Linked DNA regions of Homo sapiens: region 1 is linked to region 2. Evidence: promoter capture Hi-C in 16 types of primary human blood cells and fetal thymus (Javierre and others, 2016). All regions are on one chromosome and are shown on one strand. The core of a region is centred on a gene start or on the middle of the fragment in contact, and the rest is flanking DNA. Distances in the headings are between cores, read along the strand shown.

Evidence for each region. The method cuts DNA at HindIII sites, captures the fragments that hold promoters and counts their contacts. A CHiCAGO score of 5 or more calls a contact.
Region 1: a contact is called between a fragment that was not itself captured here and the fragment with the promoter of SLC22A14 in region 2, in 3 of 17 cell types (neutrophils, M2 macrophages and endothelial precursors). The highest score is 6.8, in neutrophils.

The regions. Positions count from the first base shown.
Region 1 is chr3:38,101,467-38,106,441 of GRCh38, reverse strand. The region is part of intron 19 of DLEC1 (DLEC1 cilia and flagella associated protein); the gene reads right to left. It overlaps LOC105377033 (a long non-coding RNA gene), which reads left to right. Exons shown (of 2, transcript XR_940727.3): 2 at 2,649-2,952. Among named protein-coding and RNA genes, the nearest start is that of ACAA1, 33 kb to the left of the region's middle. The HindIII fragment of the contact is 1,256 bases long and covers 2,792-4,047 here.
Region 2 is chr3:38,279,071-38,284,515 of GRCh38, reverse strand. SLC22A14 (solute carrier family 22 member 14) reads right to left here and starts at 2,222. Exons shown (of 11, transcript NM_001320033.2): 1 at 2,177-2,222. The HindIII fragment of the contact is 3,768 bases long and covers 1-2,660 here.

The sequences.
Region 1 (4,975 bases), core at 2,170-4,669, 180 kb after region 2:
CCCAGACAAAGAAATTCCATGTGTTTATAACATCTTCATCTTGTCCCCAAAAATGCCAGCATGCCCTTCCTGAAAACCTGCCCTACAGATTTTAGGCTTGCCTAGCTAGTCCCTATAGTTGTGTAACCTGATTCTTTGTAATAAATGTCTTAATAGGTTATTAAGAAATAAATATTAAGCCTTGACTGATATAACCATATCAAGATAAATTCATATGTAAATACAAAGACAGAATAAATGTATTTTTGCTTACTTTTCTATCTGATTTAAAGGGCAACTATACAAACCAATAACTGTAAAACTGTCTTGATAAACCTATAATGTATAAATATGTAATTTGTATGACAATAATAGTACAAAGGAAGGGGAGAGAATAGAGCTGAGCTATATTACAGTAACATTTCAGACTACTGAAATTAAGTTGGTGTTAATCTAAACCAGACTGTTTTGAAATTAAGATATACTATAAAGCCCTGGACAACCAGTAAGAAAATAACTTTTTAAAAAGTAAAAGAAACATGGAAATTAAAATGGCATACTAGAAACTACCTATCTAACAAAGAAGAAGGCAATAATGGAGGAATGCAGGAAACACAAGGAATGCAGGAAACACAAAATACATACAGAAAACAAATAGCAAAACGGGAGATGAAGTTCTACTTTATCAGTATTTACATTAAATATAAAGGGATTAAACAATCCAATCAAAAGGCAGAGATTAGCAAAATGGATTTTAAAAAAATGATCCAAGTATATGCTGTTTACAAGAGACACTTTAGATTCAAAGACACAAATAGTTTCAAAGAAAAAGGATGGAAAAATATATATCATGCAAACAGTACCCAAAAGAGAGCTCCAGGAGATATATGAATGTTAGATAAAATAGGCTTTAAGACAAAAATGGTTATTAGAGACAATGAAGGATATTTTATAATTATAAAAAGATAAATTAGAAAGATATAACAATTATAAACATGTATGTATCTAACAACAGCACCACAAAATACATGAAGCAAAAACTGACAGAATTGAAGGAGAGATCAGCAATTCAACAATAATGGTTGGAGACTTCAACAGCCCATTTTTAATAATGGAAAAACAACTAACCAGAAGATAAACATTGAAATAGAAGATTTAAACAGCACTATAAACCAAACAGAACAGGCAACACTCTACACAATAACAGCAGAATACATTATTTTTCTCGAGTGCACAAGGAATATTCTCCAGAATAGCCCATAAAACAAGTCTCAATAAGTTTTAAACGACTATAATTATATAAAGTGGGTTCTCCAACAACAATAGAATCAAATTAGAAATCAACAACAGAAAGAAATTTGTGAAACAAAATATGTGCAAATTAAATAACACATTCATAAACAAGTCAAATAAGAAACCACAAGAAAAATTAGAAAATACTTTTATATCAATGAAAATGAAAACATGATATATGAAAAGTTATAGGATGCAACTAAGGGAGTGGTTAGAGGAAAATTTATATTTGTAAATACAATTTTCTTTAAACAAACAAAAAAGAAAGATTGCAAATCAAAAACCTCAGCTTTTACCTTAAGAAACTAGAAAGAGAAGAGCAAACTAAACCCAAAGCAAGTGGAAGGACAGAAATAATAAAGACTAGAAAGCAGAGATAAATGAAATAGAAAATAGAAAAACATTACAGAAAATCAACAAAAGCAAAAGCTGGTTCTTTGAAAATATCACCAACATTGATAAACCTTTAGCTAGACTAGACTGACCAAGAAAAATTTGCTGAAGATTCAAATTAGAGAAATCAGGAATGAAAGTGGGGACATCACTACTGATCATACAGAAATAAAAATAATTATCAGAGAATACCACTAACAACTATGTACCAACAAATTACATCACAGATAAAATGGACAAATTCCTAAATTCCTAGAGTGATGCAAACTACCAAAACTGAGAAAAAAAAAAAAATCTTTTTTTGGGGGGATGGGGTGGGGCATACAGAGTCTTGCTCTGTTGCCCAGGCTGGAGTGCAGTGGCACAATCTCGGCTCACTGCAGCCTCTGCCTCCCACGTTCAAGCTATTCTCATGCCTCAGCCTCCCGAGTAGCTGGGATTACAGGTGTGCACCACCACACCCGGCTAATTTTTGTATTTTTAGTAGAAATGGGGTTTCACCATGTTGGCTAGCCTGGTCTCGTACTCCTGACCTTAGGTGATCCGTCCACCTCAGCCTCCCAAAGTGCTGGGATTACAGTCATGAGCCACTGTGCCTGGCCAAGAAAAAAGTCTAAATTGACCTATATAAGAAATTCAGTTACAAACATACCTCATGTTATTATGCTCTGCTTTATTGTACTTCACAGATACTGTGATTTTTACAAATCGAAGGTTTGTGACAACGCTGCATTGAGCAAGCCTATCAATGTCATTTTTCCAATTGCATGTCCTCATTTCATGTCTCTGTGTCATGTCTTGCAAACTTTTTTGCTATAGCTGTTATGGTAACCTGTGATTAGTGATCTTTGATGTTACTACTGTAATTGTTTTGGGGTGCCATAAACAGCAATCATATACGATAATGGGCTCAACTGGTAAATGCTGTGTGCATTTTGACTGCTCTACTTACTGGTCATTTCCGTCTCTCTCCCTCTCCTCAGGCCTCCCTATTCCTTGAGACACAACAATATTGAAATTAGACCAACTGATAACCCTACAATAGCCTCTAAGTCTTCAAGTGAAAAGAAGAGTCGTACGTATCTCACTTTAAATCAAAATGATTAAGCTAAAAAATGATTAAGCTTAGTGAGGAAGGCACATTCAAAGCTGACACAGGCAGAAAGCTAGCTTTGTGCCAAACAGACAAATTGTGAATGCAAAGAAATGTAATATCTAGCAAATGCCCTATTTGTGAAAATTTTGAAGTAAAAGATAATAAAGCAAATAAAATGTTATGCAAACAAGGAAAAGAAAATAGGAGAAAGAAATAATGTGATCAGGTTAACTGATAAAACAGAGGAGAACAAAACTGCTGCTTGAAATCCCTGCACAGGTTACGTGCAATGCAATCCTTAATGATGGAATGAGGGCATCAAAGGGCGGGGGAGCTGAGCAAAGCACTGCTGAAGATCCATTGGCTTAGCCAGGTCAGGGCTCCAGCCCCAGAGCTCAGAGCAACACATGGAAGAGTGGGCTGCCCCAGGCACAGAAGTCAAATATCACATGATCTCACTCAAGTGGGTGCTAAAAACGTGTACATATGGACATAGAGATTGGAATGATAGACAACGGAGACTCGGAAGGGTGAGGGCATAGGAGGGAAATGGGTGATGAGAAATTAGTTCATGAGTACAATGTATGCTATTTGGGTGATGGATACCCTAAAGCCCTGACTTGACCACTATATAATCTACGCACATAACACAATTGCACATGTACCCCATAAATTTGTACAAATAATAAAAATTAAAATTGAAAATTAAGAAAAAGACTGGGCTGCCACAGTATTTGCCCCCACTGAAGACTGTGGGTATCACGCTGGAGAGAGGCCAGGGCAGAGCCTGCAGTAACACTGGACCTCTCAACTGTCATGAGGAGGAAACAACCAGAAAGATGCTATTCCTTCATTCTTATTTATGAATGAAGGCACGAATTGATTTGTGTAGCTGCCCAGTATGGGTTTTCTCCACTGTTTGTTTAGGGCTGTTTTCCCCAAAGGTCCCTTTCTCTGATGGATTCAGGCTAGCTGTGTGCTCTGAGGGTGGTGACTCACATGTACTTCATCCCTTAGAATAGGGGTGCTCTCCACATCTACCCCCTTTTACTCAGAAGAAACTTACAACACCAGCTCCTTATGCAAATCAACTTCCTCCTCCATTCAAAAACAGGACTGGACAGGCAAAGATTACTAGAAGCAGAAGAAAACTCAAAAAGTAAAGAAGAACTCCAACATCTGGGAAAACAGAAATTCATTTTCTTGGGGGAATCTGAGAGGCTGTTGCATTGATAAGACTATAACAGATTACTATAGAAAAGGAAAGACGCAAGAACAACAAAGCTTGAAATTTCGAAACATGATTGCCTCTTCTGGAGACAGATCCTCCCTGTCACCCAGCAGGGGAAGGGGCGGGTACATGACCCACACAAGAGCAAGAGCAATCAGGGCCTATCTCTGCAAAGAGCCAGATTGGCTCTCAGAGATTGTTAAGGTGGGAGTGTGTGAGCCTGGAGCTCTAAGTGGCCTCTCCCCAAGGCAGAGTGCGAAGGGCCCTTGTCAATAGGGGAGAGAAGGGCCCACAAAAAAAGAGCAGTAGATGGGTTGGGGCTGGGATGGAGGTAGAGAAGGGGGAAAGAGGGTAGAGAAAGAGAGGAAGCAGAAGACCAGACAAAGGGAAAAGTGTTGGGCCCTTGGATTCAGCAAGGTGGGAATGCCCAGTTACGTGAGCCAATGCTTCCTCTTTTTTGCCTAAGTTGGTAATGTCTGTGTTTCCATCACCTGCTACTGTAAACATTCTGATAATACAAGGTCCTTTCAGGAGAAAGAACAGAGACAGAAAAGGAAAGGAAATAAGCACAGACTTAATAGAAAGCCCTTCCCCTGAGCTGCAGGCAGACTTAGCCTTCACATCTAATGCCCGCAAATTGCCCTGAAGGACCAATGCAAAGACTCATACCTAGACCTGTATTTGTTATCACAGGAGGGGACATTTGAACAACTGTCAGATGGTCAAGTATACAAAGTCCAACAACATTTGTCATGGTGAAAGTGTGGGGTAATGGCTAGTCTCACACACTGTAGGCAGAAGTATAAAATGACACAGTCTTTTTGGAGGATAATTCAAGAGCATCCACAGAGATTTAAATGAGCATTTAAATGTTTTTACAATGAAACACCAAATATATGCAAAAATGAGTATAAAACATATATACAGTTTAAACATATATATAGTTTAACGAATAATAAAACAACATCTATGTACTACCTCCA
Region 2 (5,445 bases), core at 973-3,472:
GAGAATTCTTTAGAGGACGGGCCTTGGCTGGGACACCAGGGGCCCTTGCCTGGCTGGGGATGGCACTGTGGTGGGCCTAGAGGGCAGGGATCTGTGGGGAGGCCGAGCTGCATTCGCCAAATCTATCCCTCTTAGGCCGGCCCTGGAGGAGTGACCCAGCCTGGCCCCCAGCCCCCATGGGGTCCTCACCTGGGCATGTCACCAAGCTGCCCCACTAGCCCTAGCCAAGGCTAGGGCCACTTTCAGAAGCCACCATGAGCCCCTCGCTCTACTATCGGACAGGGCGGACAGGGATGGAGAAGAGCTGTCTGCTTGAGGAGGAGTCCCCTTTCCCTCTTGGGCCCCTAGTTTTCTACCAGTCACACGAGGGGGATGCCTCCTTCTCAGACTGCGACTGCTGTTCCATAATCCAGGGAAGAGGTCTCCAGCTCATCGTCTACGGGACAAATCCAGCCTGCAGACACATTTCCCTTGGCTAGCCCATTTGGTGCCTCACTGTGTCTTGGAATGTGATTTAACTGCCAAAAGTTGATTTCACATAAATGCAGCATTTTCTTTTTGAAGTTTGGCCAATGGGACAGCATTCCCATCTGGCAACAATTAGCAAATCTGAGCAGGGGCCCCTCCTTTAGACTGAGAGTCTGCTCTGTTTTTTGTTATTATTGTTGTTGTTGTTGTTTGTTTGTGAGACAGAATCTCGGTCTGTCACCCAGGCTGGAATGTAGTGGTGTGATCTCGGCTTACTGCACCCTCTGCTTCCTGGGTTCAAGTGATTCTACTGGCTCAGCCTCCCGAGTAGCTGGTACTACAGGTGCAAGCCACCACGCCTGGCTAATTTTTGTATTTTTAGTAGAGATGGGGTTTCACCATGTTGGCCAGGCTGGTCTCGAACTCCTGACCTCAAGTGATCTTCCCGCCTCGGCCTCCCAAAGTGCTGGGATTACAGGCGTGAGCCACTGCACCCGGCTCCTGCTACTTCTGATGTGTGCATGCAGGAGGCCCAGCAGAGCCCAGCACCATTTCCCCATTTCACTTGTCTTTGCCTCCTGCCTGGCCCTGAGTTCGGGATCCCTTATCTCAGCAGAATTTGGAGGTGCATAAGAGGCAGGGAACACAGAGGGAGAGCATGCTTAGATGTGTGTGTGCTGGGAGGTGGGGGAGGCTGCATAAGCGCCCCCCGGAGAGATCTATGCCTAATCCTCAGAACTCGTAAATATGTTTCCTTACATGGCAAGGGGGGTTAAAGTTACAGATGAAGTTAAGGTTACTACTTAGCTGACTTTAAAATAGATTATCCTGGATTGTCAGGTAGGTCCCATTAATCCCAGGATCCTTAAATGCATAAGACCCAAAGAAATGCAGCGTGATAAAGATTTGGGCAGCCGTCGGTGGCTTTGAAGATGCAAGGGGTCCCAGAGCCAAGGAATGCAGGAGGCTCTAGAAGCTGGAAAAGGCAAGGAAGGAAATGAGCTCTGCCCTAGAGCCTCCAGAAAGGAAGGCAATCCTTCTGAGACCTTGATCTTAGCCTGCTGAGGCCCATTTGTTCTTCTGACCTCCAAAACCATAAGGTAATAAGTCTCTGCTGTTTCAAGCCACTAAGTGTGGGCATTTGTTATAGCAGCAATAGGAAACCAATACAGGATGTATGTGTGTAAGGCTGGAGAGGGTGGAGGTGGATAAAGGAGACTTTCCAGGGAGGGAGAGCCTCCGCTGTCCTCTCAGAGATGTGGCTTCTGGACCAGAGCCATCTGTACCAGCCTCCCTCTGCAGGGACCGCTTCAGCATCCCCCAGCACCACCTGATACCCCAATACCCTGGAGCACTCACTCCCTCTACTCATCCCAAAGGTCCTCTGCCAGGTGGACAGGCCCCAGGCAATTGGCTCTCAATGTGCCAAAGAGGTAACTGAGGCCTGGGAGAAGCATAGCCAGGAGGAGCACTCCACCTGCCGCAGGAGATGGCCAGACGCCACACCTGAGAACTCACGCTTTCTGGGAGGGCAGCCCGCTCCTTCCACAGATTCCCCACAGCCAAACAGGCCCAGGCAGGCTCCTGTCCACACCTGTGCTGAGAACGCGGCCGCAAAATTGCCAGGGGTCATCATAATTTCTACTCTCCACACCCTCCCGGCCCTGCCTCCCTGTAGGCAGGACCGCAAGCCAAAGCCAGGGCCCACCTGACCACAATCCAGGCCCAGCCAGACCCTTGGAAGCAGAACCTTTGAGCTCCACTGGTGTCCAGGAAGTAGTGTCACAATGGGGTGGGGAGGTCCTTGGGGTGAGCTGGGAATGGTGAGGGTCAGCATTCTACTCCAGGGACACAACTGGCTGTAGCCTCCAGGGGCAAGGCAGGTCAGGAAAACTGCCACACGAACCCCCCTGCCCCTGTCTTTGTGCAGGCTGTTTCCTCCACACGAGGGCTCCACCTCCACTCTCGGAAATTCTCCTGTCCTTCCAGATATCACTCATTTATCAACTATCCTTCAAGCCTTCCTGAGCCCACAGCTGGAAATGGCTTGGCCCTACCCCACTCACTTCTGCTCTGTCTCTCCGTGACACTCCCCTGCCAACCAGCCTTGGTCAGAGCTGCCGGGGTCTGACCCATCTCCCCCATAAGCTAGAAGCCTCCTCTGCCAGATTGCAGGAACAGGGCTTCAAGCTTCATGCTTGGGGGAAGGGAGGCCAAAGTGGCAGGACAGGAAAACCAGCACAGGGCCTAGTACAAGGCAGACCATCCTTGTACCAGTACAGCATGTACTTAGGACCTCAACAAAATTAGAGCATTGCTATGGCTTAATATTTGTCCTCTCCAAAACTCATGTTGAAACTTCATCTCCAGTGTGGTAGCGTGATGGGGCCTTTAAGATGTAATTGGGTCATGAGTGTAATCTGTTAATCCATGAATCACCAATCATGGATTAGTAGATTAATGGGTTAATGAGTTATGAGAATGGGACTGGTGACTTTATAACAAGAGGAAGAAAGACAAGCTAGCTTGCTCGGTTCCCTCACCTGTGCCCCCTTGGGAGACTGCAGAGTTCCCAACAGCAAGAAGGCCCTTACCAGATGTATTCCCTAAACCTTGGACTTCCCAGCCTCCAGAACTGTAAGAAATAAATTTCTTTTCTTTATAAATAACTCAGTTTCAAGCAGTCTGTTATAAGCAACAGAAAATGGACTAACACAGACACTTAAGACACAAAAAAAAATTAAAAGAATTTCATATATTTGAAAAAAAATGAAGTATTGATCACAGGGAAACCTACTTACAGCTCTTTTGCAGTTTCCTATGGCTCAATCTTCACTTGTTTGGGGGCAGGGCACTGCAATCTTATTGGTATCTGGGGCATCAGATCCTTCCTCTTTCACCAGACCTCCCTCGGGGTGTCTGCAGGTCACCTCAGTGGTTGGTCCTAGGCCCCTCATCCCCCCTAGAGTTCCCCACTCTTGAGCAGCAGCACTCTGGGGGTCAAAGGGACCAAGCAGACAGCACAGTGAGCACCCAGAAGCCATCAGTGAGACTGAAGAGCAGGGTGGGAGCACCCCTTTGTTTTGGTTTGTTTTGGTTACATAAGATCCCAGAACTCGGCTGGGCATGGTGGCTCACGCCTGTAATCCCAGCACTTTGGGAGGCTGAGGCAGACGGATCACCTGAGGTCAGGAGTTCAAGACCAGCCTGGCCAACATGGCAAAACCCTGTCTCTACTAAAAATACAAAAATTAGCCTGGCGCAGTGGCGCACACCTGTAATCCCAGTTACTCGGGAAGCTGAGGCAAGAGAATCGCTTGAACCCAGGAGGCAGAAGTTGCGGTGAGCAGAGAATTGCACCACTGCACTCCAGCCTGGGTGACAAACTGAGACTCCTTTTCAAAAAAAAAAAAAAAGATCCCAGAACTCTCTGGGTTGAGAAGAGCCCCAATAACAGCTGAGATGAATTTCCAATCAGCTCAGCAAGATGGAGGCTCATAGGCTAAAGAAACATTCTGTTGCCTGCAGATATGAGTTTACAGAACAAATATTCATACCAGCTACAAATGTTGATTGCCTTTGTTAAAAATTTAGGAGGTCATTTTTGTTTCCCTTGGTTACAGGTTGAGAAAACTAGTAAATATGAGGGTCAGATTGTTTCTAGGCAGAAAGGGGCTTGCTGTTCAATGTGCTAGAAGCCAATATGATGACACCGGGTTTTTGAGAAAAGAAAAGCTTGTAATTATAGGCCGGCCGACACGGAGACAGGAGTCCAGCTTGAATCTGTCTCCCTGGGCTGGTGCTAAGGCAGTGTTTTTATTAGAAAAGGTGTCGGGATTCTGAGATTAGCAGGTGATTAGTGGAAGGAAAGAGGAGGCCTGGAAAGTCCTCCAGCATGCGCAGTTCTCTTCATGACACCTCATAGATCACATGGGCAGGTACGGGGGGAGTGAGTATGAAACACGCAGTGGAAATTCAGGCTGTGATGTCAGCAAGCAGGTACTGCACAGACTCTAGTTGGCCACATTGGTTCCAACCTATTTTAGCCAGCTTTGTTGTCTTACAAGTGGAGGGACTTTCAGCATCTCAGCAAGTTGTTTCTTTGCTTACCTACCATCCTGCAAACTCAAGAATTTCTGTTAGTCATTGGTGTCTTTAACTGTTTGGGGCACAGTTTCGCTTTCACACACCTGGACTAAATGTTTAGGACTGATAGTCACCATTGCCGTAACCTTTGAGGAGCAAAATCAAGGAGATACACAACCAGGGTCCAGTGAAGCTGCATATCTTCTCCTTCAGAGTCCCAGAGGCCTCAGCAGCCAACCTCCCATCAGTGACTGCTAAAGGACACTTACCCATTCATCAGAGCAAACCACAGGACACTTTTAAATACACACAGAAAAAAAAAAAAATCTTTCTCCCCAACCAACCATAATCCCCCCAAAAAGGAAAGAAAAAGTCTCCAGGGACCAGGCATGGTGGCTCATGCCTGTAATCCCAATACTTTGGGAGGCCGAGGTGGGCGGATCACGAGTTCAGGAGTTTGAGACCAGCCTGGCCAACTTGGCAAAACCCCATCTCTACCAAAAATACAAAAATTAGCCAGTCTTGGCCATTCAGGTCTCTTCCTGGGAATGACAATCATTCCGTCTTAAAGGGAGCAAGTGTCCATATCTTAGAGGAGGAAACTGCCTTTAGCTGGGAAATGGCCCTTTCCCCACTTCTATCTGGTTTTCCGCACCCCTTGGCAGTTTCAGCCTGAGAGACACATTGTGCCCAGAAAGACTTGCTAGTATTCCCCAAGAGGATGCCATGAATGGGCACACAGTAGGAAGCTAAATAGAGCTTTTGTCTAGCACTTCAAAGCTGAGAATCGTGAGTGAGGAATATCCATGTGTTTGGAAGACAGGTGCTGAACACTTCCATGCTGGGTTTACAGGAAACTGGTCCAGCATCTACGCCCAACCCCGAACCAGC